Regions from separate parts of the Homo sapiens genome. Here all the other regions are linked to region 3. Evidence: promoter capture Hi-C in 16 types of primary human blood cells and fetal thymus (Javierre and others, 2016). All regions are on one chromosome and are shown on one strand. The core of a region is centred on a gene start or on the middle of the fragment in contact, and the rest is flanking DNA. Distances in the headings are between cores, read along the strand shown. Region 1 overlaps NEK4 (NIMA related kinase 4). Region 2 overlaps NEK4 (NIMA related kinase 4). Region 3 holds the start of RFT1 (RFT1 glycolipid translocator homolog). Region 4 overlaps NEK4 (NIMA related kinase 4). Region 5 overlaps STIMATE-MUSTN1 (STIMATE-MUSTN1 readthrough). Region 6 overlaps ITIH1 (inter-alpha-trypsin inhibitor heavy chain 1).

The links. Contacts are between HindIII fragments. The CHiCAGO score rates a contact against its expected background, and 5 or more counts as called.
Region 1: a fragment that was not itself captured here is called in contact with the fragment with the promoter of RFT1 in region 3 in 3 of 17 cell types (M1 macrophages, naive CD4 T cells and non-activated CD4 T cells); the score reaches 5.5 in M1 macrophages.
Region 2: a fragment that was not itself captured here is called in contact with the fragment with the promoter of RFT1 in region 3 in 1 of 17 cell types (total CD4 T cells); the score reaches 6.7 in total CD4 T cells.
Region 4: a contact is called between a fragment that was not itself captured here and the fragment with the promoter of RFT1 in region 3, in 4 of 17 cell types (total CD4 T cells, naive CD4 T cells, non-activated CD4 T cells and 1 more). The highest score is 7.2, in total CD4 T cells.
Region 5: a fragment that was not itself captured here is called in contact with the fragment with the promoter of RFT1 in region 3 in 2 of 17 cell types (total CD4 T cells and naive B cells); the score reaches 6.0 in total CD4 T cells.
Region 6: a fragment that was not itself captured here is called in contact with the fragment with the promoter of RFT1 in region 3 in 1 of 17 cell types (naive B cells); the score reaches 5.0 in naive B cells.

The regions. Positions count from the first base shown.
Region 1 is chr3:52,720,442-52,724,346 of GRCh38, reverse strand. All of the region lies in intron 15 of NEK4 (NIMA related kinase 4), which reads left to right. Among named protein-coding and RNA genes, the nearest start is that of SPCS1, 16 kb to the right of the region's middle. The HindIII fragment of the contact is 4,732 bases long and covers 1-3,905 here.
Region 2 is chr3:52,758,468-52,762,456 of GRCh38, reverse strand. It overlaps NEK4 (NIMA related kinase 4), which reads left to right. Exons shown (of 16, transcript NM_003157.6): 6 at 1,521-1,662. Among named protein-coding and RNA genes, the nearest start is that of NEK4, 10 kb to the left of the region's middle. The HindIII fragment of the contact is 3,217 bases long and covers 1-3,039 here.
Region 3 is chr3:53,128,900-53,132,669 of GRCh38, reverse strand. It overlaps RFT1 (RFT1 glycolipid translocator homolog), which reads left to right and starts at 2,235. Exons shown (of 13, transcript NM_052859.4): 1 at 2,235-2,332. The coding sequence starts at 2,270. RefSeq lists enhancers at 1,830-1,879, 1,890-2,089, 2,130-2,179, 2,190-2,379. The HindIII fragment of the contact is 8,425 bases long and covers 1-3,770 here.
Region 4 is chr3:52,740,409-52,744,639 of GRCh38, reverse strand. NEK4 (NIMA related kinase 4) reads left to right here. Exons shown (of 16, transcript NM_003157.6): 11 at 335-401; 12 at 1,179-1,288; 13 at 3,141-3,229. Among named protein-coding and RNA genes, the nearest start is that of NEK4, 28 kb to the left of the region's middle. The HindIII fragment of the contact is 6,871 bases long and covers 1-4,231 here.
Region 5 is chr3:52,834,691-52,838,773 of GRCh38, reverse strand. The region is part of intron 8 of STIMATE-MUSTN1 (STIMATE-MUSTN1 readthrough); the gene reads left to right. It overlaps STIMATE (STIM activating enhancer), which reads left to right. Exons shown (of 8, transcript NM_198563.5): 8 at 1-2,041. It overlaps MUSTN1 (musculoskeletal, embryonic nuclear protein 1), which reads left to right and starts at 3,755. Exons shown (of 3, transcript NM_205853.4): 1 at 3,755-3,834. The coding sequence starts at 3,826. RefSeq lists an enhancer at 1,155-1,324. The HindIII fragment of the contact is 2,009 bases long and covers 1,349-3,357 here.
Region 6 is chr3:52,780,137-52,783,915 of GRCh38, reverse strand. It overlaps ITIH1 (inter-alpha-trypsin inhibitor heavy chain 1), which reads right to left. Exons shown (of 22, transcript NM_002215.4): 6 at 3,534-3,647; 7 at 1,851-1,976; 8 at 1,649-1,765; 9 at 791-959; 10 at 577-702. Among named protein-coding and RNA genes, the nearest start is that of ITIH1, 4.4 kb to the right of the region's middle. The HindIII fragment of the contact is 1,535 bases long and covers 1,615-3,149 here.

The sequences.
Region 1 (3,905 bases), core at 889-3,388, 410 kb after region 3:
TAATCTTATCCTTTGTATGTGATAAGTTGCTTCTCTCATGCTGTTTTCAGGATTCTCTCTTTGTCTTTGTCTTTTGACAGTTTTGTGTGTGTGTGTGTGTGTGTGTGTGTGTGTTTTAAGACAAAGTCTCACTGTCCCCAGGGTGGAGTGCGGTGGCGCCATCTTGGCTCACTGCAACCTCTGTCTCCCGGGTTCAAGCAATTTTTGTGACTCAGCCTCCTGTGTAGCTGGGATCACAGGCATGTGGCATCACATGGGGCTAATTTTAGTATTTTTAGTAGAGACAGGGTTTCACCATGTCATCCAGGTTGGTCTTGAACTCCTGACCTCAAGTGATCCACCCGCCGTGGCCTCCCAAAATGCTAGGATAGCAGGTGTGAGCCACTAAGCCTGGCTGTGTCTTTTTACAGTTTGATTATAATGTATTTCAGTGTAGACTCTTGAGTTCATCCTACTTGGAGTTTGTTGAGCCTCTTGGATGTTTATATTTATTTTGTCTTTTAAATATTTGTCTTTCATCAAACTTGTGAATTTTTCAGCTATTATTTCTTCAGATCATTTATCTGATCCCCTCTCTCTCCTCTTTCTCTGGGACTCCCACATTGCTTACGTTGGGCTGCTTGATGGTGTTCTATAGGTCCTTTAAGCTCTGTTCACTTTCTGTAGTCTTTTTTCTTCCTGTTCTTCAGACTTGATACTTTTAATTATCCTATCTTCAAGTTCACTATTTCTTTCTTGTCCTTGCTCAGATCTGCTTTTTCATTGCAGTTATTGTACTTTTCATCTTCAGAATTTCTTTTTTTCAGACCGGGCATGGTGGCTCATGCCTGTAATCCCAGCACTTTGGGAGGCTGAGCCAGGCAGATGACTTAAGGTCAGGAGTTCGACCAGCCTGACCAACATGGTAAAACCCCGTCTACACTAAAAGTACAACAATTAGGCACGGTGGCATGCACCTGTAATTCCAGCTACTCAGGAGGCTGAGACACGAGAATCGCTTGAACCCGGGAGATGGAGGTCACAGGTTCTACTGCCCTTCAGCCTGGGTGATGGAGCAAGACTCCATCTCAAAAAAAAAATTCTTTTTTTCTTTTTATGTCTTTCTCTTTACTGATATTTGTTTTATTTATACATCATTTTATTTTATTTTGAGACAGGGTCTCATTCTATCTGGAGTGCAGTGGTGCAGTGATAGCTCCCTGCAGCCTCAAACTCCTGGGCACAAGTGATCCTCCCGCCTTAGCTTCTCAAGTGGCTGGAACTACAGGCACATGCCACCATACTTAGCTAATTTTAAAATTTTTTTGTAGAGACAGGGTCTCATTATGTTGCCCAGGCTGGTCTCAAACACCTGGTCTCAACTAATCCTCCTGCCTTGACTTCCCAAAGTACTTAGATTTCAGGTGTGAGCCACCATGCCTGGCCACATAATTACATAACTTTCTTTTTCTGAGACAGAGTCTCGCTCTGTCGCTCAGGCTAGAGGGCAATGGAATAGTCATGGCTCACTGCAGCCTGGGCTCAGGTCATCCTCCCACCTCAGCCTCCCAGGTTGCCAGGACTGTAGGAGCATGCCACCACACCCAGCTATTTTTTTTGTACATTTTGTAGAGACGGGGTTTCGCCATGTTACCCAGGCCACTCTCAAACTCCTGGCCTCAAGCAATCTGCCTGCCTCAGCCTCCCAGAGTCCTGTAATTACAGGCGTGAGTCACCGTGCCCGGCCACATCATTTTCTAATAAGTCTGCCATCTGATCTTAGGGACAATTTCTATTGATTTCTTTTGTTTTTTTCCTTTGAATGGTCCATACTTATTTTTTATGTCTTGTGGTTTTTTGTTTTTGTTTTCAAACTGGACATTTGAGTTTTTATCATGTGATAATTTAGGGGTCCTCCATGCCAGTGATGTAGGATTTACTTCTCAGTCACTTTGCAAGCCAGGGACCTCTGGCTGGCCATGCCCCACCCAGGCCTCGCTCAGCCATGCTGGTGTGCCCCAGCTCACTTGTGTTATAGCTTGTACCCACGTTCAGCAGTTTCTGAGCTCTCGGACCTTGCCCAAGAAGAATAAGGATACGCTGGATGTTGAAGGGTGAGGAGGGTGGAGAAGAATTTTATTGAGTGATGAAACAGCTATCAGCAGAGAGGGGATGCGAGGGTGGTCCCCCTACCTTAAGGTGGGGAAGTCCCCCTAATATGGCTGAGTCCAGGGCTTTTTATGGGCTCAGAATAAGGGAGGGGTAGGCTGTAGGTAGTATTAGAAAAGGCAACATTCGATTGGTTAAAAGGCATTATTCAGAAAGTATCAATTGGGAAAGGGCGAGCAAAGAGGAACAGAAGTTCCCACTCTGGATCACAGGTTTCATCCAGGACCAGCAGTCTGGTCTTTCAGCCTTCGGACTGATTTGGCTTGAAGGTGGGGTTTCACTGGGAACCTGCCCCATCTGCCTAGGTATTTGGCCACCTCCTGTCACTATCACCAGGGATTAGTCACAGGTATAAACTTAAGGTCCTTCTCATGTCTGAATCTGTGTTTTCCCCTGGGCATGTACATGCATGGTAACTTTCCAAATTCCCCTGTAAATGTGGTTACTTTTTTTTTTTTTTTTTGAGACAGGGTCTTGCTCTGTCACCCAGGCTGGAGTACAATGGTGTAATCACAGCTCACTGCAGCCTTTGCGTCCTGGACTTAAGCAATTCTCCTGTCCCAGCCTCCTTAGTAGCTTGGACAATAGGCGTGCCCCACCACACTTAGCTAATTAAAAAAAATTTTTTTTTTTGGTAGAGACAGAGTCTCCCTATGTTGCCCAGGCGGGTCTTGAACTCCTGGGCTCAAGCAATTCTCCTGCCTTGGCCTCCCAAAGTTCTGGGATTCTAGGCATAAGCCACCGTGCCCAGTGGCTTTGGAACATCCTGCTCCTTCAATGTATGGCCCCCAAAAGGGGGAAAAGAAAAAAAATAAAGTGGGGAGAAATAAAGGCACCAGCCTTTTAAATCCCCAGGAAGTCACTTCAGCTAGAGGGAGGGAGGTTTGCAACAGTGTCAGTGATGGTTGCAACATTGGTTTCCTGCTTCTATATCTGTACTTCAGTGATCAGAAGCAGCAATCAGCTATCAGTACAGAGATCCCTGATACTTGGAGGACTGGTTTCTTATTGCCTACCCTGGTTCTTGCAAGCAGCATGCAAGCTGCTTCAGGAACAGCATGACTGTCTCCACTGGGTGCAGAGTGCTTGGGGCTGAAGTGAACCACAATTTAGCTTCTAAGACTTCCGCCAGATGTTTCCAGCCTTCAAGAGAATCCAGAGTTTTTAAATAGTTACGTAAAAGAGATTCTGTCAGTACAATTTCTGGTTGAGTGAAGAGATACAATTTTTGCTTGAGTGAGGAGATGAATTCCTGATGCTTCTTACTCTGCCATCTTCTATAGTATTGTTTCATACAGTAGCTTTTCAGATTAGTTAAGGAGAGGCAAAATGTGTTTGTATTGTGTTTTATAATTACCTTTACCAGCACTCTTGTGTTTTCACATTGCTTTGAGTTATTGTGTAGGGTCTCATCCTTTTAGCTTGATGAACTTCACTTCGTTTTCCTGTAATGTGGGTCTGCTAGCCACACATTCTCTGCTTTTGTTTATCTGGGAATTTCCTTATTTCACTTTTATTTTTGAATGATAGATTTGCTAGATATGGAATTCTTGTTTGACAGTTTTTTGGAGCACTTCAAATGTTATCCTTCTGCCTTCTAGCCTCCATTGTTTATGAGGAGATGTTAGCTGTGAATGTTATTGGTGTTGCCTTCTGATGAGTTATTTTCATCTTGCTGCTTTCAAGGTTTTCTCTGTTTTTGACTTTCAGCACTTTAACCTTAATGTGTCTGTCTGTGGATCTCTTTGAGTTTATCC
Region 2 (3,989 bases), core at 182-2,681, 370 kb after region 3:
ATTTTTTTTTAAAGGACATATGCACTACTCTGGGCTCACTGCCTATGAGTTAGTCCTGTTCTCAAGGAGCAGCCAAATAATAATAAAAAAAAAGAGGGCATATGTTTTAGAAATCATATAATTAGAGATTATCTGAGAAACCTATACATCTTACTGTGTAAGATAGTAATATTTAAAAAGTAGTGCTCACATTTCTGAGAGCTTGCATAAAGTTCCCTCTTCATTCACATTAACTTCCCAAGAGAATTCCTTGCTTTGGCTTGCAGATCCTACCTTTACTAAACAGGTGTTCCAGGATCTAAGACTTAGGGCTGGACAAAACTATTACAATCTGTTTGGCTTCTCCTCTTGCCTTGTGGCATGTTAAATTTGGAAAGAGAGGAGGCAGTGCTAGAGATGCCTCAGGGAATAAAGAAGAACCATCTTTTTGTGTACATAATTTCCCACCAAGCAGACCTTTGGCCTTCCAGTGTACTGATCTCCATGCTCCTCTTGAATTCTCCAGAGGTTTAGCCCAGTTTTAGAAATGACATACTAAAATAGTTGGGGATGTTATTCCTGTATGCATTTATTCTATAAGCAGGACTAAGTGTACCAATCAGTTTTACTCTCAAAGTTAGCCAAGCAGTTGTGGTATTATTACAGACATGTAAAATTTGAAAATGAAAATTAACCTGATACTCCCGTATGTGAGGCAATCTCCCATAGAATTTTTATTTTGGAATAATTTTGTATAAACAGAAAAGTTGGAAAGATAGAGTGGAGAGTTCCTGTATACCCCTCATCTAGTTTCTTCTGTGATTACCAGATTACATACCCTAATGCATTTGTCAAAACTAAGAAACCAACATCGAAATATTACTATTGACTTGGCCATGCATGGTGGCTCACGCCTGTAATCCCAGCACTTTGGGAGGCCGAGGCTGGCAGATCACCTGAGGTCAGGAGTTTAAGACCAGCCTGGCCAACATGGCAAAACCCCGTCTCTACTAAAAAAAAAATACAAAAAAATTAGCCGGGCGTGGTGGCGTGCACCTGTAGTCCCAGCTACTCGGGAGGCTGAGGCACAAGAATCACTTGAACCTGGGCAGCGGAGGTTGCAGTGAGCTGAGATCACGCCACTACACTCTAGCCTGGATGACAGAGTGAAACTCTGTCTCAATTTTTTAAAAAAAGAAAGAAAAATATTACTATTGACTAAATTCCAGACTTTCTTTGGCTTTCACCAGTTTTTTTCTCTAATGTCTCTTTTCTGTTCCAGGATCCAATCCAGGATATAGTACATCTAATCAGGGGTCTGTGATTGTTTCTCACTTTGTTTATTTTTTATGACCTTGATTGTTTCAAAGACTACTGGTGAGGTGTTTTGTAGGATGCCCCTTAGATTTTTAGAAAACTATTCTCTATAAATGGTGCAGTTCTGTAAGGGAATTCATTGTATACACACACTCCCACATATACCTAAAAACCCTTAATCTTCAGTATATTGATAATAACTCTTTCTTTTCTTCTTTATAAAGAAAAACCTCCAAAAATAACATTAAAAATGGTGACTCTCAATCCAAGCCTTTTGCTACAGTGGTTTCTGGAGAGGCAGAATCAAATCATGAAGTAATCCACCCCCAACCACTCTCTTCTGAGGGCTCCCAGACATATATAATGGTACGTTTCTTTTTAAAGGGTATGTGTTTTAGAAACTGCACTTAGAAAAATGGGCCATCTAAGCAAATTATTTTGTGTGAAATGATTATGCTTTACTAGAGATTCTGTTGTACAATTAATTCCTTACTGTAAAGAAAGAATACTGGTTAAGGTGATTGATTTAGCTTTATCCAAATTGGGCTGTCAAATTGTTCACAAAGTCAGTGCTGTAATAACTTTAAGAATTTTTTAGGTGAAATTTATATAACAAAATTAACCATTTTAAAGTAAACAGTTAAGGCTGAGCGCGGTGGCTCATGCCTGCAATCCCAGCACTCTGGGAGGCCGAGGCTGGCAGATCACCTGAGGTCAGGAGTTCAAGACCAGCCTGGCCAACATGGTGAACCCTCATCTCTACTAAAAATACAAAAATTAGCTGGCTGTGGTGGCATGTACCTGTAGTCATAGCTACTCAGGAGGCTGAGGGAGGAGAATCGCTTGAACCTGGGAGGTGGAGGTTGCAGTGAGCCAAGACTGCACTACTGCACTCCAGCCTGGGTGACAGAATGAGACACTGTCTCAAAAATAAAAATAAAAATAAATAAAATAAAATAAATAAATAAAGTGATCAATTAAATGTGGCCAGTACATTCACAGTGTAGTGCAACCGTCACTTCTATGTAGTTCCAAAACATTTTCATCACCCCAAAGGAAATCTCTTCCTCATTAAGCAGTCACTCCCATTTTGTCCTTCACCCAGCCTCTGGCAACCACCAGTGTGTTTCCTGTCTCTATGAAGTTACCTGTCCTGGATATTTCATGTAAATAGAATCATTAAATATATCCTTTTGTTTCTGGTGTCTTCCACATAGCATATTTTCAAGGTTCATCCATGTAGCATGTATGAATACTTCATTTCTTTTTAGGTCTGGCTACCATTATGTGGATATACCACTGTTTATCCATTCATCCATTAGTAGACATCTGGGTTTTTTTCACCTTTTGGCTATTGCTATGAACATAAGTGTGCAAGTAGTTGAGTACCTGTTTTCCGTTCTTTTGGGTACATACCTAGCAGTGGAATTGCTGAGTCAAATGGTAATTTTTGGTTTGACTTTTTTTTTGGTTTGACTTTTTGAGGAACTGTTGCACTGTTTTCTACAGTGGCTGCACCATTTGACATTCCCATCAGCAGTGCACAAGAGTTCCAGTTTCTCCACATCTTTGCCGGCACTAATTATTTTCTGATTTTTTGATTCTAGCCATCCTAGTGGGTGTAAAGTGGTATCCTATTGTATTTTTGATTTGTATTTCCCTAACGATTAATGACATACAGCATCTTTTCACATGCTTGTTGGCCATTTGTATGTCTTCTTTGGAGAAATATCTGCTAAAGCTTTTGCTTTTTTTTTTTTGATACAGGGTCTTGCTCTGTTGCCTAGGCTGGAGTGCAGTGCTGCGATCACGGCTCAATCTAGCCTCCACCTCTCTGGATCAAGTGATCCTCCCACCTCAGCCTCCTGAGTAGCTGGGACCACAGCATGCCACCATGCCTGGCTAATTTTTTTATTTGTAGAGACAATGTCTTACTATGTTGCCCAGGCTGGTCTCAAACTCCTGGGCTCAGGAGGTCCTCCCACCTTGGCTTCCCAAACAAAGTGCTGGAATTACAGGCATGAGCCACTGTGCCCAGGCTTTTTTTTTTTTTTTCTTTTTTCTTTTTTTAAGAGAGGATCTTGCTCTGTTACGTAGGCTGGAGTATAGTGGCATCATCATAGCTCACTACAGCCTCTGAACTCCTTGACTCAAGGGATCCTCCTACCTCAGCCTTCCGATTAGCTGTGTCTACAGGTGCACGCCACCATACCTGGCTAATTATTATGATTATTTTTGTAGAGGTGGGTCTCACTATGTTGCTCAGGCTGGTCTTGAACAGTTCTTCTGCGTTTTCCTCCCAAAGTGCTGATATTACAGGTATGAGCCACATCACCCAGCCCCTGCCCAGTTTTAAATTGTGTTTTTGTCTTTTTGTTGTTGAGTTGTAGGAGTTCTCGATCTGTGTTCCAGATACTAGTCCCTTGTCAGATAGACAACTTGCAAGTATTTTCTCCATTGTATAGGTTGTCTTTTCTTTCCTTTTTTAGTTAAAATTTTTTTTTTTGTTTTTAAAAATTTCTTTTGTTTTTTCACTTTCTTGATAATGTCCTTTTCACAAAAGCTTCTAATTTTGATGAAGTCCAGTTTATCTATTTTTTTATTTTGTTGTCATAGCTAAGAATCCCTTGCCAAATCCAACGTCTTGAAGGTTTATGCCATAGTTTCTTCTAACAGTTTTATAGTTTTAGCTC
Region 3 (3,770 bases), core at 986-3,485:
GCTCTCTGAGGGCCAGACTTGCCTGAAACAATCCTTATGACTATTTTTACAGGACAGATAATATCCCTATTTAGTAGCTGAGCATACTGAGGTCACCCAGTCAGTGAGTGGCAGAATGAGGATTCAAGGTCAGTTCTCTCTGACAGACAAAAGCTCACATTCTTGGGCAGGGTGCAGTGCGGTGGCTCATGCCTGTAATCTCGGCACTTTGAGAAGCTGAGGTGGGCGGATCACTTGAGTCCAGGAGTTGGAGACCAGCCTGAGCAACGTGGGAAAAACCCATCTCTACAAAAATCACAGAAAAAATCAGCCAGGTCTGGTGCTGCACGCCTGTAGTCCCAGCTAATCGGAAGGCTGAGGTGGGAGGATTACCTGAGGCCAGGAGGTGGAAGCGGCAGTGAACCAAGACTGTACCACTGCACCCTAGCCTGGGAGACAGAGCGAGACCCTGTCTCAAAAAAAAAAAAGAAAAGAAAAGAAAAGAAAAGAAAAGAAAAAGAAAAGCTCACATTCTGGGCCTCCACACTAAGACAGAGCTCATTTCACCTGGGAAGATGGGAGTGATAGGCTTTGAGTTCCACAGTCTGTTTCCAGCAGCAGTAGCAGCAGTCATGTGTCAGGAGACATTTATAGGAGCCCTAAGAATGTTCTGTACCGCTACTTCAGGAAGCAAAACCAGGCAGGCTGCACTTCTGCCCTCTTGGAGCTCATGGGCTGATTATATAGAGACACATATTCTAGTCTTTCTGCTATAATGCAGATTGCATTAGGAACTATAAAGGGGTACAGAGTATTTTAGGGGTACTGTCTTGATTTGCTTGGGCTGCTGTAACAAAATACCATAGACTGGGTAAGTCAAAAACAGAAATTTCTCTCACAGCTCTGGAGGCTGGAAGCCCAAGATCAAGGTGCTAGCCAGTTTGGTTCCTGTTAAGTGTATGTTGGGCGCCTTACATTTTACAAAGCCTTCTTCGTGGTTGCAGACAGCTACATTCTTGCTGTATCCTCAAATAGTAAACACAGAGATCATTTTTCTGACATCTCTTTTTATAAGGACATGAATCCCATTATGACGGCTCCACTTTCAGGACCTAATTACTTCCCAAAGGCCTTACCTCCTAATACTATCACACTGGGGATTAGGCTTCAACATATGAATTTTGAGGGTACACAAACATTTAGTCCACAGCAGGTACCAGCTGTGGTTGGCCAGGAAAGTCAGGACAGTGTGGTCTAGGAGGGCAAGGGGTGCTGTCAGGGAAGACACTTTGGACAAAGAGGGTGGAGGAGCAAAGGCCAGTGAGTCACCGCCTGTTTGAGGACCAGTAAGGACTCGGAATGGCTATGGCCTAGATAGTGTTGGGAAGGGCAATGATCGTGTGAAAGGTAGTAGAAGATAGGTTGGGGCCAAATCATGTGAGGACTGAAAGAGATTGGGGAAAGACTGGGCTTCCTACAGCCTGCTTGGTAGATAATAAGAACACTGACAGAACAGCAGCTGATTGTGTATGTTGGGCGCTTTACATTTTTTTACAAAGCACTTCCAGTCCTTCTTCCACTCTGCCCTCACAATTTCTAGCATACAGGCAAGAGTGATAAGTTTAGGATCAGGAGCCTGGTATCCACTTAGTCAGGAAACAAGTTGTGTAGATTCGAACAAGTCACTTCCCATCTCCAAGGCTTTACTCATCTCTAACCACAGGGGCCAATTCTCAGAGCTTTCGGAAGGATTTCACAAAACCATACACATAACAGTGCTATATCTAACTTCTGGTCCTCAGTTCTTTCTCTGTTAAATGAGGACAATTCCTGTCCAGCCTAATTCAGAGGGTCTGTGGCTGTGATTCTGTAAGCAAAGGTCAATGGTGAGAATCTTCTTAACGGGCCAGTGAGAAGTTTGTTCCCCTTTTGGCAGATGAGGCCAGGAAAGTTAGTGCTTCTTGGTTGGTGGCTGAAAGCCTCAGAGAAGGAACTTTGGATTCTTTAACGGTATCTCTTAGTACTCGCCACACTATTTCGTTTATACGGGGAAGAGAGGGACAGACAGCGCACAAGCGACAGACAGCGCAAAACCTACCGAAATAGAAAGAGCCAGGCGCCATAACAGACGGCCCGAGACAGGCCCACTTAAAGGACCAGAACTTCTCGTGCCCCGCCCCCCTCTCTCAAGGCCATCAATCAGACAGCGAGGCGCGCCGTGACGCCATCTTATCGCGACTAAACGGAGTGGCGGCGGCATTTCCTGGTGTCTGAGCCTGGCGCGGAGGCTATGGGCAGCCAGGAGGTGCTGGGCCACGCGGCCCGGCTGGCCTCCTCCGGTCTCCTCCTGCAGGTACTCTCTGCCCTTCAGGTTCCAGCTTGTACTGCAGCCGGGATTCGCGGGATGGCAGCCCTTGGGCCCTTGAGAGCCTGCCCCAGGGCCGACCCAGTCCCGAGGTGGACCCCGCAATGGAGGGGGTGGGGGGGTCGACCGGAGACGGTGGCATTGATGAGGGGGGACCCTGGCCCGGAGATAGGAGCCTGCCTTTAGAGTCTAGGCCGGGTGACTGCAGACAAGCCGCTTTCCTTCTGAGCATTCTATTTCCCATATGGCAGTAGGAGTGAATTAGATCAGGTGGCGGGGGTGAGGGACTGGTATTTCGTGCTCGAGAATCTGATATTTTTCAGGCAAGGGGTTCATTTCCTTCATCAAACACCTTCCTCAAACTTTGAGTCCCACTGAGTTCCGAGAGTCCATATGGCATAGCTAAGAAGAGAAATCTGGAGTTAGGCTTGGATTGCTCCGTGACCCAGGACAAGTGACTTCACCTGCAGAGCCTGAGTTCCTCACTAGTAAAATGGGGGTAATAATATGTCGTACTTAGCTCATAAGCAGGGATTGATTGGGATCATTCAAATAAACGTACTTAACACAGTACCCGGCTCTTAGTATGCATTTAATACATGTTGGCTGCATCTTCTGTTTATGTGATCTTGGACAAGTCACTTCCCTTCTTGGCCCTAATTTTTGTCATCTGTCAGGTATGATACAGGCCAGTTAGTCCAAATGGTATCTGAAGATTCTTTCAACCCCAGGAGCTGAACCTCTTAAGTCAAGTGGCTCAGTATCTCTCTGTCTCACTCTTGAGCCAATCAACCCTACTTCACACAAGTCCCGAATCTACCCTACCCCTTATCTTAGAGAGGCACATGGAGGGCAGAAGAAAGAACCAAGCAGAATGGGGCTTGAGTTTGGGCCTTGTCACTTGCTAGATGCCTGCCTTCGGGATAAATCCGATGACTTCTGTATCAGTTTCTTCATCTTAAATGAGAATCATAGTGCAACCTCACAGGGTCATTAGGAAGATTAGATGAAATCATGCCTCTTAAGTGCCTGGCACACTACAAGTACTTAATAAATGTAGCTATTTTTATTAGGGTAATAAGTATTTTTAAAATAGTCAATGTAGGAATGAAATGAGATAACCTATGGAAAGCATGTTGAAGAGTGCCTTGCACGTGATATGTGCTTAGTAAATGTTAGCCATTCTAAGTTTACCTAGGGATTTTTTTTTTCTGTTTCACTACATAAATAACTGAGTTTATTGTTTTATCCACAATGTTGGTTTTTTTTCAGCCTTTGATAATATCTTACTACTCAGATAGGCTTCATAAAACGAAAACAAGTTATAACGGAAAACACACTGGACTACGAGTCAGGTGGCTTACCTGTAAGGTCAAGCTGGGTCATTTACTTGCCGTGTGACAGTGAGGAAATCACTTAACCCTCA
Region 4 (4,231 bases), core at 1,121-3,620, 390 kb after region 3:
CGATCTCAGCTCATTGCAACCACCGCCTCCCAGGTTCAAGCAATTCTCCTGCCTCAGCCTCCCGAGTAGCTGGGATTACAGGCACGCACCACCATGCTCGGCTAATTTTTGTATTTTTAGTAGAGACGGGGTTTCACCATGTTGGCCAGTCTGGCCTCGAACTCCTGACCTGGTGATCTGCCCACCCCAGCCTCCCAGAGTGCTGGGATTACAAGTGTGAGCCACCGCATCCAGCTCAGACCTTTTTCTTAATGCTGAATGATACATCATGGATTGTAGGTGTTATAAAAATAGCAAGTAGGAATGGAAGTGACTCTGTGACTTTCTTTTAAAGGATCGACCATTATCAGCCAGAGAGAGGAGGCGACTAAAGCAGTCACAGGAAGAAATGTCCTCTTCAGGTAAAGTTGACTTCTTTTCTTCATCTAATTGGCAGTTAGGGGTATGGTTCGTGGACAGAAACACTGGTTCTAACTATGAGAGGTTGAAACTTTCCAGCAGCAGTAAAACATGTAGGAAATCGAGTTGGAAAAGATTTTGAAATTTCTTAGTCAAGTCTTTTAAGAAATCATCATAGGGTGTTGAATGTGGTTCAAATATCAGAGGAGGGGGATATTAAAGAAATAACAAGAGGGCTTTGAGTGGCAGTAAGTCCTGGGAGGTTTCAGACCAGAAATCAAGTGAATGTTTAACTTTTTTCCATGTCCAGTGTCCACTGTTCAGTGAATTGCTCCCATCTTAGGAACAGAGGGAGGTTGCTTGGGGAGTGGTGCTGCCGTAGGCTGAGGGCTATCATTCTTTTTAATATTTTTTAAAGATAGTACTAGCAGTTTCCATTTATTGAATGCTGACCATGTCTTAGGCATTATGGTAAACATATTAAGGGTATTATCTCATTTCACATTTACAGTACTGCCAAAATATGCAGCATTATCCTCATTTTGCAGCTAAGGAAACAGAGGCTCTGAGGAGTTAAGTAACTTGCCCAAGGTCACAGAGCTGGTGGACCTAGAGCTAAGATTTCAACTGAGGTGTCAGACACCAGAGAAATGATAAATATGCTGTTTGACTTACTTTTGGGCTAGCTCCTGCTGGGGTATGTTCCATACCAAATACAAAGCCCTTTTCAACTGGGGCAGCCCACCACAAACAACTACTGGGGATGTTTGCCTTTTCAGGCCCTTCAGTGAGGAAAGCGTCTCTGAGTGTAGCAGGGCCAGGAAAACCCCAGGAAGAAGACCAGCCCTTGCCTGCCCGACGGCTCTCCTCTGACTGCAGCGTCACTCAGGTGCATTACGTACTCCTAAGAGAGAAGGTGGACAGTCTACATCTGGCAGGCCTAATGCAGTAAACCTTTTAAATGTCAGCTCCATTTATTTTTGGGACAGGGCCAGCTTGTTATATCTTTTCACTCTTGATAAAGAAAGGAACTGGTAAATAATAGTCAAAAGGATTATGATTGACCCATTAAGGGAATAAATTTTTCAGGTACTCTTGTAAACAATTGATAGCCTAATTAAAAATATTTCATAGGTTGGTCTTAACAGGACTTCCTGGCCTGATGCAGTGGCTCACGCTTATAATACTAGCACTTTGGGAGGCCAAGGTGAGAAGATTGCTTTAGCCCAGGAGTTTGAGATCAATCTGGGCAATATAGTTGGACCCTGTCTCTAAGAAAAAAAAATTACCTGGCAAGGTGGCGCACACCTGTAGTCCCAGCCACTCGGGAGGCTGAGGTGGAAGGATCACTTGAGCCCAAGAGGTTGAGGCTACAGTGAGTTGTGTTCACACCACTGTGCTTTAGCCTAGGTGACAGAGCAAGACTCTGTCTCAAAAATATAAATAAATAAATAAGTAAATAAATAACAGAACTTTCTAAGGGCTTGCACTAGGCAGCACTTTGCTCAATCTGCTGTGATACCAACATACCCATCTGTGTCGCCAGATTTGAGTCTCACTTGCTAATCATTCCTCAGTTTCTTATTTGTGTCAATGTAGTTTACCTTCTTGCCTGTAGATGATGTAGGGACACCATCTGGTGGCTAAATGGGTAATTACTAGGTTTCTAACCCATGTTCACCTCTCTGTATAATACTCTGGGAATTCTTCCTGTTCTTTGAAAGTATTGGATGTATTATTTCTTTAACTATATCATTTAGTTATTTCACTAATAGAGGCTGCCTTCCATATCTCAGAGTTGTAAGGTTTATGTGTATTTTTAGGTGATCCTTTAAAGCACTTTAACAGTCTCACATTAAGAGCAAGCTGAAGCTGGGCATGGTGGCTTGTGGGTGTTATCTCAGCTACTTGGGAGGCCAAGGAAGGAGGATTGCTTGAGCCCAGGAGTTTGTGGCCAGCCTGGACAACATAGTGACACCCCTGTATCCAAAAAAAAGAAAAAAAAAAAGACAAGCTGAGTTTGCCTAGGTAATTTAAAATGCCAACATTCCTATAGAACAAGCCTTCTGCTTAGGAGTTGATAAACCAGAACTAGCCATCCACTGTCCTCTGGAAATTTCTTCACAGCTGAGACTCTCCAGGACCTTTGTAAAACTTCACCTTGGGCAGGCGCGGTAGCTCATGCCTGTAATCCCGGCACTTTGGGAGGCTGAGGCAGGCGGATCATGAGGTCAAGAGTTGGAGACCAGCCTGGCCAACATGGTGAAACCCTGTCTCTACTAAAAATACAAAAATTAGCTGGGCGTTGCGGCACGTGCCTGTAATCCCAGCTACTCGGGAGGCTGAGGCAGGAAAATCACTTGAACCAGAGAGTCGGAAGTTGCTGTGAGCCGAGATCGTGCCACTGCACTCTAGCCTGGCGACAGAGCAAGACTCTGTCTCAAAAAAACACAAAAATCAAAACAAAAAAAAAACAAACAAAATAAAAAACTTCATCTGATGTTCTTCAGTTATTCTTGTGGACTTTATGAGTGAACTGGGATATCACGGGTAAAATCACTTCAATGTTTTTTTCTTTTTGCCACAAATCATATGGGAACAATTTTTGTATTTGTTAGATTCTCCTGTTATATTGCACCTAGGAACGTATTGTGTCTAGTTGTTGCATCTAAGACTGGTTCAAGTATCACATTCTGGTTGTGTTGTCATGTAGAATTTTAATTCTTCCAAACATTTAATAGGAAAGGAAACAGATTCATTGTCTGTCTGAGGATGAGTTAAGTTCTTCTACAAGTTCAACTGATAAGTCAGATGGGGATTACGGGGAAGGGTAAGTTCTTGTTTTTCTGTCTCCCTTTATAAACTATTTCTGTTTTAATGAATATTAAATGTGCATTTTCAGTAGTATTTAGATCTCTAGTATTCCCACTGATAAAATTATAAATGGTTTGTGGCATATGCTGGAGCTAAAAGTGTCTCTTCTTTTTTTTTTTTTTTTTTTTTTGAGACGGAGTTTCGCTCTTGTTGCCCAGGCTGGAGTGCAGTGGCACAATCTCCGCTCACTGCAAGCTCCGCCTCCCGGGTTCACACCGTTCTCCTGACTCAGCCTCCCAAGTAGCTGGGACCACAGGCGTCCGCCACCATGCCCGGCTAGTTTTTTGTATTTTTTTAGTAGAGATGGCGTTTCACCGTGTTAGCCAGGATGGTCTCGATCTCCTGACCTCGTGATCTGCCCACCTCGGCCTCCCAAAGTGCTGGGATTACAGGCGTGAGCCACCACGCCCCGCCTGGCCATTATTTCTTCACATTTTTTTTTTGGACTTCTTCCTGCCCTCTTAGGGATTCCAATTACATGTATATTAGGCTCCTTAAATATGTGCCACAGCTCACTGATGCTCTGTTTATTTTTACTTTTTAAAAATATATTTTATTTTATTTATTTATTTTTTGAGACAGAGTCTAACTCTGTCATCTAGACTGGAGTGCAGTGGCATGATTTTGGCTCACTGCAACCTCTGCCTCCTGAGTTCAAGGTATTCTCCTGTCTCAGCCCCGCCGAGTAGCTGGGATTACAGGCACTCGCCCAGCTACATTTTTGTATTTTTGGTAGAGACTGGGTTTCACCATATTGGCAAGGCTGGTCTCGAACTCCTGACCTCAGGTGATCCGCCCACCTCGGCCTCCCAGACTGCTGGTATTACAGGCATGAGCCACTGCACCTGGCCTGTTTTTACTTTTTTTCTGTTTCACATTTCATAGATTCTATTGCTATGTCTTTGAGTTCATTAATCTTTTCTTCTGCAGTGTCTAATCTGTTAATCCTATCCCGTGT
Region 5 (4,083 bases), core at 1,104-3,603, 290 kb after region 3:
GGGACTGCCCTCTGCCTCTCAGAGCCCTACCTGTCCTGGACTTGAAGGCGAGCATCAGGCAGGCCTTCTCAGCCCATCTTCCACCAGGAGTGCAGAGCCAGGGTGCTGAGAGGAGCAGGGACTGTAACTACAGTAGGAGGCAACTTTGCTGGTGTCATTCCTGCTCGGATTGACTTTGTGCTCCCTCCCATCCACAGCTATGGTAGCCAGTATTTCCCCAGCAGCTCTCTAGTGGGGAAGAGTGGCTAGAACCAGGCCATTCTCAGTCGAATTTAGGAAGACCAAGACTCATGTTCCTGACAGGACGGTCATTCCCTCATGGCATCACTGACTCAGTTCTAATTCCTCCCCTCCTGTTTCATTTTGGTTTGAACAACCTGTGCCTGCAGCTGTTTCTTCCACCTTCCTGGAGCTCACAATTGGAGCTTCATGTTCAGTCTTGAGCTCCTAATGTTTCCAGACAGGGCAGGGGATAGGAGAGCCATAATCTATGAAAGCTGTGAAACAAACCCTGGGTTATATAGATCTCAGATGGTCTCATCTGAAGGCTTTGCCCACTTCCCAGTGAGCAGAGGGTTTGGGGAACAAAGAGGTAGCTGAAGAGTGGTGGTTTTTCCCTGTATCCTGATTTTCAGAAAGGGCTTTAGTCTCTGAGCTGTGGCTAGTAGCTGGCTGGCTGACCAGGGGACGGGGGTCTAATAGGGTGTCTGACCATAGGACACCTCTCGTGTTTGGCCTTCCCTTTCTTGTGTGTTTGTGTGTGTGTGTGCACGTGCACGTGCACACACATGTACACACACAAATCTGTATCCCCAGGAGTGCCTCCTGCAGTCACTGGGGGCTCTTCCGTGGTGCACCATCCCATGAGAGCAGATCAGAGGGCTGTGGTCAGGACTTCCTCCCGAGCTGCCCTCCCTCCCTGGGATGAGTTTCCTCTCCACCTGCTCCAAGGTGCCTTACGAGGTGCAGCTCTTCACCTGGCCACATGGCATCCATCACCGTGTTGAGAAATGGTGGGACGTTGGCTGGATATTGTGTGCTATGAATCTGATTTGTCCAAATCTGGACCTCAGCCAAGCCACCTGTGGTGGAACCTTGCAAGTCAAGGTCATGAACAAATTTCTTGTAACTATTGGAAATAAACTAATGAGGTAGAACTGTCATATCCAAATGGAAGAGGTGGTTGGTACTGTTACTTCCTTTTGCTGTCAGAGGGTTGTTGACAATGGCAAGGGGGGATGTTAGTGAGATCCAGGTGGTGGTGGCTTCTTGGTCCACTCAGCTTGCACACATGCAAGAGGAGGGTCTGTGGCCCCTCAGCCGTGCTGGTGGCCTCCTTCCTCAAGCTTTAACTTGTGCCCTCCCTGGCAACAGGGAGTCATGGGTTAATGTCACCTGTCATGCCTCTTTCTTCAGGGAAAATATTAAAAGGCTCAAATCCAAGCTGTGACTTCCCTTAGACAGTGTAAGCCTGTAGGGTGCAGCCCCAAGTTTATGTCCAAAGGCTGCCTCAGAACCCTGGAGGGAGCAGCGCCCAGCTGGCAGCTCACTCTGCCCTTGCAGTTCACTGGCCTTTTCGCAGCCAGGCTAAGATAGGCAGTGCAAGGAGCTTCCCACTGGCCAGAGCAGCTGCCTTGTAGAATGTGGGGCTGGCTTTTAGAAGTTTCACACGCTTGCAGCTAAGAGTGCAGAGCTCTCTGTTTTACTTCGTGAAACATTAGCAGCTCTGAGGGGCTTGGCTTTTGGTAAGGGACTTATGGTCTGACTTGCCACAAGCACCTTGAGCTCCTGGGTTGGTTGGTGGTTGGTTGGTTGGGTTGTTTTAAATTTGATTTTTCTTTTCCTGAAGTTTGTTAGAAGTCAGACCTATGCAAGGAAAACCATGGCCCACTTCAGCAGCCATCCAGTGGGGGTGCTTAATCGGTGGTGGTAGGATTCATGGAAACGTTTTTTTGAAATGAAAGAGAAGATGATGTACTTACATTGTAAAATGGTTTACAATAAAGTTTGGCATCTTATTACAGTTTTTTTTAAAAAGAAACCATCACATTTGTGGTTGTGGTTGTGGGTTCTCTGGAGTTGAAACAGCTTGGCAGGGTCAAAAAAGATTCCCCTGTGAATTAGAAGGTTCTCCCCAGGGACCAGAGTGAGAAGGAACCTTACGAAGCCTCATGGCAGGAGTGGGAGCCAGCAACTGCCCAGTGAAAAGCCAAACATGCTCTTGCCATGTCCATCTCCACTTCTTCGCTAGTGAGAATTAAAGCAAGTCCGTCTCTGAGGAGGACATCGTGTTGGGGAGGTAGAGTATAAGCAGTGAGTAGCCCACATCCTTGTCCCTGAGGCTGCGGGGCTGGAAGGAGGTCCCTGGGCAGAGCCGCAGCATCAGGTGCCATCTGCAGGGGCACCCCTGGAACTAGTGGAAGGCCCCCACAAGGCCTGGCCTGCCCTCAGCTGCCTCTTGGCCCATGTGCCACATCCTGGGCATTCCTCATGTCAGCACTTGTCTCAGATCAAGCCTGGCAGTCCTCTCATTGGCCTCCTGGAGCCAGGGTGTCAGGAGGGGGATTGGGGTGGGGTTCAAAGTATGACAGCAATGGAGTGGCATTTGGGATAACCAAATGTCAGTGCCTGGTTGAGTTCCATCTGCCTGGAGCCTTCGAGGATAAAAATAATCTCCATCATAAACTGAAAAGGACTTAGATATGTGTGTTACTGGGAGGGCTGCGACCTATGCACACCTATTCCCCATACCCACCCCAGGCGTAGGCTCCTGGCCTGTGCCCTGGGGGATCTTCCCCTTGCAAGGAGGGGTGTGTTAGGAGCTTCTAGCAAAGGAGAGCTAAGTGACCTTCCGGGGAGCCCTTGGGCCTGTTCTTGTCTCTGCAGCTCAGTATCTGGAGTGGGCTTCACTCTCCCCCACCCTCTTTGAGCAACTGAAACTGTCCTGCAGGCCAGCCCCCCTGCGGTGGCCTCACCTACTCGGAGGTGAGTAGGCTCAGGCCTGAGCCTGAGCCTGTTTCACACCTCTGTCTCATCAGTGCTGTCACCATCGAGCATGGTTTCCTCCCTGGTCCTTTCCAGACCCCTTACTCCCCCCTCTCTGAACTTGCAGTTGGAATAGGATAGAGGACAAGGACATCAGCAAAAACATGAGCAACTCCCCAGGCTCCCTTTACCTCACTTTCTCCACCTGTGAACCTGTGGTAGCCCCTCTCTGAGTTTGCTGCAAGGGCCCAGTGAGCTTGCCATAATCAGACGCAGCAGACACGGGAAGCTCCTGCTCTGCCACCATGCAGGGATGGAAAATCTGTCCACTGGAATCCAGGGGAAGGGATGGAAGAGGAAGAAAAACAAGCTTGGAGCAGTCCAACCCAGCTAGGGCCCTCCATTCCCTCAGGGACACCCCACACCCACCCCACACACTGGGATGAACCCTTGCAGAGGAACAATTCAGATGGTCACACATTCCAGGACCCAAATCCGTAAACACAAAGCATGTCCGTCAGTGCCAGCACCTCCCCCCGGCGAATCAAGCAGCTGTCCCAGAGGGCAAAGGGTCTCTGCAGCCATCTGCTTTCATCAGGGCTGCAGCCCCCAGGCAGCAGTACTGGGAGCCCCTCTCATCTCCGAGAATAAACTCTGAAGCCAGCGACCCTGCGGACCTGAATCATCAGGGAGCCTGTCAGAGGAGGGGCAGTGACTCTGCGGGACAAGCAAGCAGGCTATATAAGTTTCAGAAGGCTGGGCTCCACTCAGATCTTTTCCAGCAGCTGCTGCCTGCCAGAGAGGCGCCTTCAGAGACCCAGCGCTTACACAATACCCACCATGTCCCAGGTAGGAGGACCCAGCAAGGGCTGTGTTGATGCCAGAGGGAGTGGAGGTGGAGTCCTGGACACTTTCGGCTCTGGCAGCTGTGTCTTGATCTGAGCCCCAAGCATGAACTGGAGGCTCTGCAGCCCTTGGGAGATGGGGGCTCAGGGAGGACCCCCTGAAGAACCCCTCTTCTATGTGGCTTTGGTGGTATTCCACGGTTTGTTAGGAGGAGTGGAGAGAAATGTTGGGGGTGGGGGGGGCCTAGATAGA
Region 6 (3,779 bases), core at 1,133-3,632, 350 kb after region 3:
CCTCTTCTGCCTGGGATCCCTTCCTGCCACTCTCCCCTCTTTCTAGACTGAGCTCAGGAGTCACCTCCTCCAGGAGGCCTTCCCGGACATCCCCCTGGGTCAGGTGTCCTTTGTCTATGGTTCCACAGCCTCAAGCACCCTGTTCTTTCAGGGCCCTCAGTATCTACTCCTGGATCTGCTTCCCCCAGTAGGTCCCGGGCTCTTTGAGGGCAGAAATATGTCTTGTTCCCTTGGTATTTCAGTCCCTAGCCCCTTGCTTAGCATACAGTAGGTGATAAATAAATAGTTCATTAAACTGTGAACAGAAGCATGGAATCTTGCCCATCTTCCAGGGACTCATACAGACCTGTGTCATTTAGAAACATCTCCAATTTCTCAACTCACAGGACAGAGGTACACCATAGAGCTCCCTCAGACTTTGTGGTCTGAGCTGTGTTTTTAGACCAGTGCTTGATTTTGCCCTGAGCTTTTCTGCCCCCTGATGGCATCTCCAATGGTTGGGTTTCCAACTTCAGCTTGCATGTCTCGGGTGACAAGGAGATCACTACCTCCCAAGGCAGCCCCCAAGGTGCTTACCCTCTGTGGGATCGCCATCTGTCAACATGATGAGTATTGAGGCATGGTTGCTGAGTTCTGGGAGGCTTTCCTGAACTTGGTTCAAGATCTCAATTCCCCGGAGCAAACCTCCATTCAGGTTTGTGGCTGCAAGGAAGAGAAAGCAGACCAGTGTATGCCCTCATTCTGAGGGGACAGAGGTGACATCAAGGTTGCCTGAGACCCCCACCCTTACCCTCATCCAGGGAAAAGCCCCGCACAAAGTCTTGAGCTGCTTGTAGGTTGGCCTCAGATGCTTGCACCAGCGAGCCCTTCCACGATTGTACTCGAGTCCCAAAAAGAACCAGGTCAAAGTAGTCCCCTGGCTGCATGTCCCCCAGAATTTTAAGGAGTGCCTCCTTGGTCTGCAAGGACAGAACAGTCAGTAGACAGACAGGGCCCCAGGGTGGCCCCAGGACAGCACCTTCCAACTCCAAATACCCATTTCAGAGATCCACAGGGTGGACAAGCAGGAGGAGATAGGACAACCAGGTGGCCCCGAGACAGGAGCATCCTGCCGGGCCTTGGGGTGGATGAGGGAGGTGGAGAAGGCAAAGGAACCCACCATGGGGAAAAGAAATAATCAGGAGTTCGGGAGGGGCAGGATTAAGAGAAAGGACCCCAGGAGCTGTGCTTCTAGAATACTCCTTGTCCAGCCATGTCTACACTGCACCATGGACAGGGCACTCCAAACCCTGTGGGCGGAGAGCTATTCCCTGCTATAAGATGCCTCCCCACGGACCACCGTAATTGTAGTGCACAGGTTTCCTCTTCTAAGCACTTCCCCCAGGGGGTAACTCCATGACCCTGCAGACACCATTGTCATTCCCATTTTTTGCCATTGAGGAGAGGTGAATGCACTTCCTCACGACTGCACAGTGAGGAAGCGATGCTGATTCCAGAGATGCTAACCACTGGGATTTCCTGTTAAATCACTCTGCCTCTGACCAGGAGGATAAATCCCAAACCAGACTCTGGCAGCAAAACTGGCATGTGGTGAGTGATGGGGCTGTGGAAGCTTCTGCTGGGTGAGCTGTTTCAAGCTGCAGCCTACCTGCTTCACTTTCTGGCCTCTCATGGAGCCACTGATGTCAATCACAAAAACCACGTTCTTGTTCATGTTTGTCAGGTTTTGGGGGGCAAAGAAGTGGGCAAAGTGGTTATTGGCCACCTGAAATAGAGGAGAACGAGTGAGGCCACTCTCACAGCACCCCTTGCCCATCCTCTGGGTGCTGAGCCAGAAGCTCAGGGCTCACCAGGAGGTCGCAGATCTTGTCTCGACTGACATCGTAGGTCACCTTGAAGTGCCCGTTCAGTAAGGATGTAGAGCATGTGGGGCAGGACTGCTGCTGGCTCACGGTGGGACGGAACAGCACATGACCCTGGAACCGTCGAGAGTGTGAGCCATTACTGGTCTGTGTAACCACAAACAAGATGTTTGCAAAGACAACATAAGAAGGCATGCGTGTGTGTGTGTGTGTGTTTGCACGGACAGAGAAACGAGTTCGGTGGGCCACTCACTCACCTAGCTGCTGAGAGCACACACCTGTAGGTGGTGGGAGAGATGACCCATTCCCTTGCTTATATGCTTCTGAATCATTGGGATTTTCTACAATGAACATCATCACTTTGGGTATATAAATAATAACAAAATAATAGCAATGTGATACATCTGACAACTCAAACTGTTGAGTGAAAAAGCAGCACTACAATACTGTGGTGAGAAATAAAAGCTGCCCAGGTTGACAAAGAACAAAGACTGGAAGGAAGGGTGCAGAATGGAAGCTGAGGTCTGGTTGGAGTTGGTGATGTGCTTGGGGAAGCTAGTGATGGTTTTTATTCAATACTTTCTATATTCCTGGACTTCATATATTTTTCTATAAAGAAATTTTTGTTTGTTATAAAAGTAAGGTAGGCTCATCAAAAAGAAGCAGAAGCAAAAGGAAGAAGAAGCAGCAGAAAAGAAGAGGAAGAAGAAGAGAAGATAGAAGAAGAAGAAGGAGAAGGAGAAGAAGAAGCAGAAGAAGAAGAAGAGGAAGAAGAAGAAGAAGAAGAAGAAGAAGAAGAAGAAGAAGAAGAAGAAGAAGAAGAAGAAGAAGAAGAAGAAGAAGAAAAAAAAAAAAAGAAGAGGAGGAGGTGAAGGAGGAGGAGGAAGAGGAGAGAAAGGATGGAGGATAAAATAGAACCTTGAAAAAGTCTTGGGAAGACAAGGACCCATCCCTTTGTTCCCCCACAGAAAGCAAGCATGTTTGCTAACACTCTTGAGGTGTCATATTTAGTTTAAAAGGAAACCCCTCTAAACTGTAAGAAGCACTTCTTTTAAATGAATTGTGGTGCAGGCTCTACATAAGTGGGAACTAAAGGATTTGTTCCTGGCTCGGGTTGGGGGCAAGTCAGGAAGCAGGGCATTGCCCATCCATACACCACACTCCTCCAGGAACCTGGGGTGGGGGTGAGCCAGGGGCTTCTGGGATTCCTGCAAATAGTGGCAAGCGACAAGTCGTTGGGTAGGCCAAAGGTCTTTCCAAACTTATGTTTCCAAGAAACCTGAAGCTTGGAGTCCTAACCACACCAGCATATGAGGTTTACTTATGTGCTGGATATTTCCCTGAATGCTCTCCCATGGGCGTGAGGCGGGCAAAGAGGGCACTGAGGCTCAAGCAAGCCAGCAACTCACCCTGGACCATGCAGCCCGTGTGTGGTGGAGCTGGAGCTGGCTCCTTCCCCACCTCAGCATGCAGGCTTTTGCTAAATTGCTCTGAGAACCAGGATAGCTGAGTTCTCCTAGGCACCAATCACATGACACCAGCTTCTCTCATCCTGAGGGCAGACCACAGCCCCTGCCTGGTTTCTGGGCTAAGGCTGGACATTCCATAAGGGGTGGGCAGGCTGAGAAGTCTCCAAAGGGCCCACCACCACCCCCTTGCTATCCCATGTACCTTTTTTCCTGAGAAGGACTTCTTGATAGTTTGGGCTGCCAGTTCCTTCGGCAGGAAAGAGGCCTGGGCATCCAGCTTGCTGATCCCCTGGGGCTCGAAGATGTCCACATCAATCTGCAACATTGAAGCAAATTATTTTTTTAAAAAAAAAGATGGGATCTTGCTTTGTTGCCCAGGCTGGCCTCAAACTCCTGGGCTCAAGCCGTCCTCCTGCCTCAGCCTCCCACGTAGCTGGGATTATAGGCT